2 separate regions of the Homo sapiens genome follow, and region 2 is linked to region 1. The links are contacts of gene promoters, found by promoter capture Hi-C in blood cells and fetal thymus (Javierre and others, 2016). All regions are on one chromosome and are shown on one strand. The core of a region is centred on a gene start or on the middle of the fragment in contact, and the rest is flanking DNA. Distances in the headings are between cores, read along the strand shown.

Region 1 (4,920 bases), core at 644-3,143:
TTAACATTTACTTGCTAGAAGAATATAAGGCATCCTAGTATTTAGTTGGGGTCTTAAATGAAACTCATACTTGAGATGAGTTTTTAACGAGGTGCCTCTCAGATCCCTCCCTCACACCCTCAATTGGCATCCAGGCTGCCAAAGCCCCCTGCACACATATCTGTGTAACAGATCGTCTCCCCACCCTGACGCCTTCCACCCCATGGTGCTGTTACTTATGGAATTCAGAAGGCAGCTACTGCTTTGTTTTCTGTCTTCCTGATAACTCTAGGAACCTTGAAGAGTACCTGCTACTTACACATCATCTTGTTCTTAAATCAAATTTGGACCATAATTGTTATCATACAATTTTAACTGCTAAGGTCACCTAGTTCTACAGTTCAAATTAAACATTAGCTCATATTGCCTCTAGGTTTAAAACTAATGTACCCAGAAGAAATTTACTAAGGGCCAGCAATGTTGAAATAGCTTAAGTGCAAACAGAGGAGTCCTGTGTGCTGGCAATGACAAGGCGATGTTGTCTAAAGTCCCTATTTGATTCCTCGTTTGTCCATCCCTTCCCAGTGGCCTTTTCCTCTCTGAACTTTCAACAGTCTTGTGCCTAAGCACTTCAGTTCACTCCTTGTTAAATGCCGTTGATTGGCTATGCATATGTAACATCCCTTACTTTATTCCAGAAGAGGTCACCTTAATACTGCTTTAATTCCCTGAAGGGATGATGTTTGGTCATCAGTTAGCAAAACTCAAGCTTTGGAGCACCAGAATGTGTGCCAGAAAAAATTTTTCCAAATGCTTGATAATAAACTCAGAGGGGGGTTTGGTCACCAGAATTGTTAGGTGAGGCTATTGCTTCCTAACTTTTGCTTCCCACAGTCCAAGCTTTGATGCACAAGGTTATGGTTGATTACTTTTTATTGCATTCTAGTGGGAACTGGTTTCTCCACCCATCCTCATTTTCTGTGGTCTCAATTCCCCATTGTTCCTTGGGTCTGAGGATGCAGCTGGATCTGAGAGTGTGAGACGCTGTCATTTAGTACATGAACTAAAGATATAATCCTGTTTACTACTTTTTTTGGTCAAAGCAAAAAATAATGCAAGAGTTATGTGAACACGATGTTTATTACATGTATAGAACTGAATATGTAGATGTTTATAATCCGGAAGCTTTGGGAAACTGGACTTTGATAATTTCCCTGTAATGAATCCATTTCTCAAAAGCATTTTTTTCTAAAAAAAACACACACACACACACACACACACACACATTGTTCTCTGTAACCTCCCCAGATAGATACTTTTTAAAGATCTTGCTTGTTAAAATGCCTGCCAGCCTTTTAGAGAAGTTGACAGGTTAGGTGGTTTCTGTTAGCAGAAACACGTGGACTCAAAGCTTTTCCTCTAAAATGAATCTGTTGTGTAACATCACAGCTGGCTCAGAATACAGGTGCGTGCTCCTGCTCTCCCTGAGAAGATAGAATGGGAAGAGACCAATCCAGATGAGACGCAGGGGAGGAGGGGACACCCAACAGCAAAGGCACTGTTGCAATCTTAGCCTAAACCATATCTCTGAGAAAGAGTTTCTTGTTGCCTGCTTGTATCTCTGGGTGATCACAGACCCCTGCTCTCCAAGGTGGGTTGTGAACTCTGGAGCACTACCAAGATTGGCTAAGAGCTGAAGGAGAGTCCCAAAGGAGCTTCAATTCTGCAGAACTATACAGCCTTCTTTACCTTACCTTGACCAGGTGCTTAGAGTTTGGAAAGTCAGGGATAAGAATTGAAATTCCTCCAGGTAAGAAGACCCCCCTCTTAGGAAATGGACTCCTCCAATTTTCTCACATGATTTTTCAGGCACTTTCGCTTTTCCATATATAGGAGTCGCTCAGGAGCAAGCTGTGGCAAGCTGGAGGGAGGGACACATCCCGTGTTCCATCCACTCCCTCCCTTCTCAGCAGTCCTCGCCTGTTCTCACGTGCTCACAGGCAGTTAGGCAGAAGTGATCCCCGTGGCTCTGCCAAAGACAAGCCTGTTGGGTTGAAAGAAGAAGAAGAAGAAGAAAAAAAAACTCAGGCAAAGTCACAGCCTCAAAATTGTTCACTGAAAGAAGCGTGAGTGGAGAAGTGTGAGAAGATGAATGGACCGGTGGATGGCTTGTGTGACCACTCTCTAAGTGAAGGAGTCTTCATGTTCACATCGGAGTCTGTGGGAGAGGGACACCCGGGTAAGTAGGCTGTCTTGGACTGACTGGAAAACGATCATTCCAAGCCTATACTGAGGGAGTCACTTACAAATGGTTTTAATTTGACACATAATAATTGTGCATATTTATGGGGTACCGTGTGTTGTTTTGATCCATGAGTATAACATTTAATGATCAAATTAGGATAATGGGCATACCCATTGCCACAGACATTGACTACTTCTTTGTGGTGAAAACATTCAAAATTCCCTCTTCTAGCCCTTCAGTCACCCTACTGCGCAATGGAATGCCAGAGCTCATTCCTCCTATCTGACTGTAACTTCGTACCTGTAGGAGTCACTTTTACCAGAGCTCTTCAGAGCAATGTGTGTGAGTTACCAGAAGGGATCTCTAGAGAAACAGCATGGAGTAGTTTCATAAAACAGTCCCTCCTGATGAAGCCGTGCTGTGGCCCACCACCAGCACGCCAGCACAGTGGGTCCAAGACAGGGAGTAGCAGCTGGCTGGCTAAGAGTATGACACATGCAAAATATATGATCAGGTCTTAACTTTTTATATGTATTTTTTTTTTAGGAAAGCTTTAATCTATTATCCATGGCCAATTTAAGTCAACAGGGAATGTTCCTGAAACAAGACCATGGGTGACTAAATTTTGCATGTGAAGCATGTGCAACTTAGGCATGAAAGCCTGCACCCTGGTCACTGCTGGGGTAGACCTCTAGGTGCTGGGGACTCAGTAACGTTCTCTAAGAGCAGAATAGAAGACCTTCTAAACAGGAAGAAAATTTAGGCATTGATTTTGGTCCCTGAAAAGTAGGTAGACTGTGATGTGCGGAAGTGAGAGAAGCTTCCTTGATGACGGTGAGAACTAGGACCAGGACATTCAGAGCCTCAAGTGTAGGACAGTGGTTCTCAAACTTCAGGGAGCTTCAGAATCCCCCAGAGGGCTTGTCAAGACAACAGAGGGCTGGGCCCCACCCTCCAGAGTTTCTGATTCAGTAGGTCTTGGGAGAGGCTCGAGAATTTGCATTTTTGACAAGTTCCCAGGAGATGCTGATGCTCTGGGGTGAGAACCACTGCTCTTGGAGACCCCTGGGGGATAGATGTACAGACTTCTATAGTTAAGTCCCTCTTCAAAATTCATTCGAGTGTTTGCTAACTTATTGCCAAGTCTGCCTTTTTCCATCTTCCTTGCTCTTGTTCTTCCTCAAAGATATTTATCTTTCCTACCTTGTAACTTGGCTTTGGACACCTCAGTGCACTACTCCTTCCATATACTTTAGCCAGTGGTTTTTGACTGGTGGCAGTTTTGCCCCACAACCCCCAAGAGCATTTTGTACTGTCTGGAGACATTTGCAGTTATCACAACTATAGGAGGTGGGGGTAAGGTGCTACTGCCATGTATTGAGTAGAGGTCAGGCACACTGCTAAGCATCCTACAGTGCACAGGACAGCCTCTCAAGAATTATCTGGCCCAAAATGTTAATAGTGCAGCTGTTGAAAAACCTTGAATTGAATTGAGTTTTTTATGTGACTTAGCTCAGTTCAATGTAAATAGCCTCTTTCATTGTGCATAACTGTATAAAGTATCTAGGTTTACTGTATTTTCAATCTCAGATACATTGCTGATTTCTGACACATTCTGATCAGCTCCATGGCTATGAGCCTCATGTATAGGTTAGGAGAAAGATTCACTCCACCCGGAGGAAGTGGGTTTTTTGGCATGCAGCGGCTAGTGGTCCCAAGAATGGTCCATTGTGCGCAGCAGCAATGTGCTCAGAGGACTGAGAATGAACGTGCCAGCCAATCAATTGATTGTTTTGTATACTTAATGACAGCCAATCAATTTGTCTAATCGTCCCTTGTACTTGCCATTGTAATTGTCCAGGTAAGTCAGTTTCCATGGAGGCTAGGTGACTTTCTGCTTGTCATTCCATTGCTGAATTCCTCTCTGCTAGAAAGATAAAGGTTTTCTTCTCTGGTTTTCCAAAAAAACAACTATTGGCTATCTTAAGCCTACTAAGTGATATTGATAAAAATTTTGAAAGCCAAAACAAAAACAAAAACAATTCAGAAACAACCTCCTTGGGCATTGTCTTGTGTGTGGTGCTATCTGGAAGCCCCTGCTGGACTCCAGCTTTGTTCCTTCTCCTGTTGGATTTCCCTAGGCAGAGTGGGAGCCTGTGAGCTGTGTCTGCACAGGCAGAGACATTCACAATCAATGATCAGTCAGCAAGCTTCTAGGAACTCTGATGGGTAAGCCTAAGGTGGCCAGCATGTATTTATTTTAGGATATTTTATCAGCGAGAGGCCTTCAGTGGTAGAAGTGTGTAGAGGCTAAGGGCTCAGACAAACCTAAAGGTACTACCAGGGTCTGCCACTGGCAGGAGGCTAGATTAAACAAACAAACAAACAAACAAAACACAACCTCAAACATATGTTTAGCAGTAGTTTCTAAAGGAAAGATTAAGGAATTAATGAATATCTTTAATTACAGAATTTAACATCTGCTTTTGAGAGCCAAACTGCTTGATTCTGGATCTGGATTCTTAACAAAAACATATTACTCTATTAAGAGCAGACTGTGGGTATTTTTAACACTGAATGAGCTATAATATATGTAGATAGAGATCACTTTTATTTCTTAATTTGTAGATATTGACAGTTTGCATAACCCCAAAGCAAGAGTAGATTTTCCTACAAGCACCATTTAGTGCTTTACA
Region 2 (4,920 bases), core at 1,234-3,733, 690 kb after region 1:
CTCCAAGGGAAGATCACCTTCCCACTCCATTTCCCTTTCCAGTCCCCAATCCATCTCACTGAGAGCCACCTCCACCACTCAATAAAATCTTGCACTCATCCTTCAAGCCCACATGTGATCTGATTCTTCCAGGATGCTGGGTGAAAGCTTGGGATACAGAAAGCTGTCACACAGGCCCTCTGCCCTTAGGATAAGGCAGAGGGTCCATTGAGCTGATTAACACTCAAGCCACCTGCGTATGCAAAACTGAAAGAGTTTTGTAACACCAGGATTACAGGCACCCATCCCTAGACTCTACTGAACAGCTGGAGCCCAAAGCACTCACCCCAGCCTCTGAACCTGCCCATCTGCATGCTCCCCCTAGGGGTTTGAGCAGTGGGGCAACCAAACAGGTGAGCCACACCCCTGTCATGCATCCTGTGAGGGGGATCAGGGGACTCTCCCGTTTCAAAGGGGTGCAGAGTGGAGGCCATGTACAGGCACTAAGGACAGTGCATGGGCTTCTCTGCATATTTGAGGCCTCTCTCTTAGTGCTCAGGGGACCCTTCCCCTGCCCCCTTTTCCAGCTGCCCTGGGTGCTAGCAGTAGGAGGAGGCTGTCTGTGACTGCTGGATCTTTCTGTCACTTTGGATCATCACAGCACTCTATGAGTTGTACAGAGAGTAAATCCCCATTCCATACTTCAGTCAGCTGAGGATGACAGGGGTTACATGGATTGCCAGAATTACCAGAAATCTTCTTTCCAGCTCAGTCCTCTGCTAGAACCTTCCCAGAGTCAGAGGAACATGCTTATTCTACCTGTACATGAAGACAAGGGAATGCACAAATTAATTTACTAATCATGGATATATTTCAAAATCGCTTATAATGTCAGAATCTAAGGGACAGCTCAGCCACATGAAGGGGATGGAAGTTGAGGCTTTTCTTTGCTGAGGCAGCCAGCAAACTAAGCAAATATGTGTGTATGCATTATATACATATATATACACACACATATATTGTGTGCTGTATGTTTACATACATATATATTACATTGATGCCTCTCTAATAATGCCATTTTATTTTTAAAAAGAATAACACTGTAAATATATTTCTGTTGCCTAGAAATAGCATCCAATTTGCCTTAAAAATCACATTACTTGTTTTTATTTTCATTTTTGCCAATGCAGCCTTGTCACCCTTCTTTCTGCCCTGAACATTTTGAACCTTCCAAACCCCAGAGAAATACATCATGCTTTACTGAGGTTTTGAGGAGAGGGAGAGAGGTTTTCCCATTCTGCACCTTGGAGGAATTGAAACTGGCAGGTGGCAGCAACTGTCTTCAAAGAAATAGGCTCAGGAACACACACGTGCAGACACACACACACACATTCTCTTACTTTGCACCAATAAGATCATACTGCATATACTGTTCTACAATTAGTGTTTTCTCTTACATATGCCAGCCATCTTTTCAGATTGACACATAGGGATATAATTGTAACTATAGTCTTTTCTTGGAGTTTGTTTGTTTTTACTTCTGGTAATATATTCTTTACTATCTTTTTAATTTAAAAAATGTTATTTTTGACACAATTATTTTACATACATATGGGCACAGTGGACTATTTTGATACATGTATGTAACGTGCAATGATGAAATCAAGGTAAGCAGCATATTCATCACCTCAAAAACTTACTGTTTTGTGTTGATAACATTCAAAATCCTCTCTTTTAGCTATTTGAAAGTATACATAATTTTTTTGTTGGCTATGGTCACCCTACAGCGCTAAAGAAGGCTACAACTCATTTCTCCTATCTAGCTGTAATTTTGTACCCATTGCCCCACCTTTCCCATTTCTCATTCCCCTTAATCTTCCCAGCCTCTAATATATTCTGTTCTACTGTTTACTTACTGTTCTATGTTTACTTCTATGAGATTAACTAAGTTTTCTTAGCATCCACAAATGAGTGAGAACATGCTGTGTTTAATTTTCTTTTCCTGGCTTTATTTCACTTAACATAATGGCTCACCCATGTTGCTATGAATGGCAGAATTTTATTCTTTCTTATGGATGAACTGTATTCCATTGTGTTTAGTTACTACATGTTTTAAATCCATTCATTCACTGATAGACACTTAGGTTGATTCCATATCTTGGCTATTATGAATAGCTCCGCAATAAACATAGGAGGGTAGATACCTCTTTAACATACTGGGTTCCTTTTCTTTGAATACCCAGTAGTGGGATTGCTAGATTATATGATAGTTCTAGTTTTAGGTTTTCAAGAAAGCTTCATTTTGCTTTCCATAATGGCTGTAGTACTTTCCATTTCCACCAACAGTGTATGAGTTCCCTTTTCTCTGCACCCGCACCAGTATTTATTCTTTTTTGTCTTATTGATAAAAGCCAGTCTACCTGGGGTGAGATAATTTATTTTGGTTTCATTTGCATTTATCTTAGGAATAAAGATATTGAGTGTCATTTATATACGTGGCCATTTTTATGTCTTCTTTTGAGAAGTGTCTGTTCAGATCATTTGCCTATTTTTAAATTGGATTATTTGAATGTTTTGCTGTGGAATTGTTTGAGTTCCTTTTATATTCAGGATATTAATCCCTTATTGGATGAATAGCTTGTGGATATTTCTCCCACTCTGCAGGCCGTCTCTTCACTCAGTTGATTGTTTTCTTTTCTGTGCAGAAGCTTTTTAGTTTGATATAACCATATTGGCTTATTTTTGGTTTTTGTTCCCAGTACTTTTGAGGTCTCTCCATAAAATCTTCATCCAGACCAATATCCTGAAGCACTTCTCCTATGCTTTTTCCTACTAGTTTCATACCTTTGGGTCTTATGTTTAAGGCTTTAATCCATTTCATGTTTTTTTTTAATGTATAAGAGATAGGGGTCTAGTTTCATTCTTCTGCATATGAATATTCAGTTTTCCCAGCACCATTTATTGAACATTTATTGTCCTTTCCCCCAATGTATGTTATTGGTGCCATTGCCAGAAATCAGTTGGCTATAAATATGTAAATTTATTTCTGTGTTCTCTATTCTGTTCCATTGGTCTATGCATCTGTTTTTATACGAGTACTATGCTGTTTTGGTTATCATAGATTTGTAGTACATTATGAAGTCAGGTAATGTGATGCCTTCAACTTTTCATTTTTTGCTCAGGATTACTTTGACTACTTGGTGTTTTATAGTTCCACACAAACTTTATGATTTTTTTCTTTTTCATTTTTTTAAAATAAACATGGGTATCGGGGGAACCCACCCCCAATAATTCAACATGAGTCCTTTTCTATTTTCCCTAAGTGTCGGCCAGTCTGAGAAATAAAAGGAAAAAGTACAAAAGAGAAATTTTTAAAGCTGGGTGTCCGGGGGAGACATCACATGTTGGCAGGTTCTGTGATGCCCCCTGAGCTGTAAAAGCAGCAAGTTTTTATTAGCAATTTTCAAAAGTGAGGGAGTGTAGGAGTAGGGTGCGGGTCACAGAGATCACATGCTTCAAGGGCAACAAAAGATCACAAGGCAGAAGGTCAGGGCAAAACTAGAATCACTAATGAACTTCCATGTCCCGCTGTGCACGCATTGTCAGGGTTCAAGGGCAGAGAACTGGTCTGACTAGAATTCGCCAGGCTGGAATTTCCTAAATCCTAGCAAGCCTGGGGATGCTGCAGGAGACTAGGGCGTGTTTCATCCCTATCTACATCTGCATAAGGCAGACATTCTCAGGGCGGCCATTTTAGAGGCCCCCCCGGGAATGCATTCTTTTCCCAGGGCAGTAAATTATTAATATTCCTTACCGAAATAATTCAGTTATATTTATCTTATCCGTTTTCGGTAATAAGAGAAATATGGCTCTGTCCTGCCCAGCCCACAGGCAGCCAGACTTTAAGGTTATCTCCCTTGTTCCCTGAAAATCGCTGTTACCCTGATCTTAAGGTTCCCAGATTTCATATTGTTCAAACACACATGCTCTACAAACAATTTGTGCAGTCAATGCAATCATCACATGGTCCTGAGGGGATATACATCCTCAATTTACAAAGACGACGAGATTAAGAGATTAAAGTAAAGACAGGCATAGGAAATCACAAGAGTATTGATTGCGGAAGTAATAAATGTCCATGAAATCTTCACAATTTATGTTCTTCTGCCATGGCTTCAGCCGGTCCCTCCGTTCGGGGTCCCTGACTTCCTGCAACACATGGGGTCTCGCTATGTTGGCCAGGTTGGTCTTGAATTTTTGACCTCAAGCAATCCTTCTGCCTCAGCCTCCCAAGTGCTAGGATTATAGGCGTGAGCCACCACACCTGTCCAGGATTATTTTTTCTTGTTCTGTGAAGAATGTCATCGGTATTTTAATAGGGATGGCATTGAATCTGTAGATCACTTTGGGTAGTAAGGTCATTTTTATCAATATTAATTCTTCCAAGCTTTGAACATGAGATGTCTTTCCATTTTTTTGTATCCTCTTCAGTTCTTTTTCTTTAGTGTTTTCTGTTTTTTTGTATCCTCTTCAGTTTTTTTCTTCAGTGTTTTATAGTTTTCCTAGTAGAGATTCTTCACTCCTTCATTCAACTTACTCCTAGATATTTCACTTTTTGTAGCCATTGTAAATCGGACTGATTTTTTTATTTCTTTCTCAGCTAGCCCATTATTGATTTATAGAAATGCTACTGATTTTTGCATGTTGATTTTGTATTTTGCAACTTTACTGAATTCATTTACTAGATTTAAGTGTTTTTTGGTGGAGTACTTAGAATTTTCTATATACAAGATTGTGTTGTCTGCAAACAGGGATAATTTTATTTCCTCCTTTCCAATTTGGATACTCTTTATTTCTTTCTCTTGACTGGTTGCCCTGGCTTGAATTTCTAATACTATCTTGAATAAGAGTAGTGAAAGTGGGCATCCTTGTCTTGTACAA

The links. Contacts are between HindIII fragments. The CHiCAGO score rates a contact against its expected background, and 5 or more counts as called.
Region 2: a contact is called between a fragment that was not itself captured here and the fragment with the promoter of MAT1A in region 1, in 3 of 17 cell types (M1 macrophages, M0 macrophages and M2 macrophages). The highest score is 5.8, in M1 macrophages.

Annotation. Positions count from the first base shown.
Region 1 is chr10:80,286,631-80,291,550 of GRCh38, reverse strand. It overlaps MAT1A (methionine adenosyltransferase 1A), which reads left to right and starts at 1,893. Exons shown (of 9, transcript NM_000429.3): 1 at 1,893-2,218. The coding sequence starts at 2,128. RefSeq lists an enhancer at 1,764-2,058. The HindIII fragment of the contact is 1,385 bases long and covers 1,393-2,777 here.
Region 2 is chr10:79,598,549-79,603,468 of GRCh38, reverse strand. It overlaps LOC124902469 (a long non-coding RNA gene), which reads left to right. Exons shown (of 2, transcript XR_007062215.1): 2 at 1-111. Among named protein-coding and RNA genes, the nearest start is that of SFTPA1, 9.9 kb to the left of the region's middle. The HindIII fragment of the contact is 413 bases long and covers 2,277-2,689 here.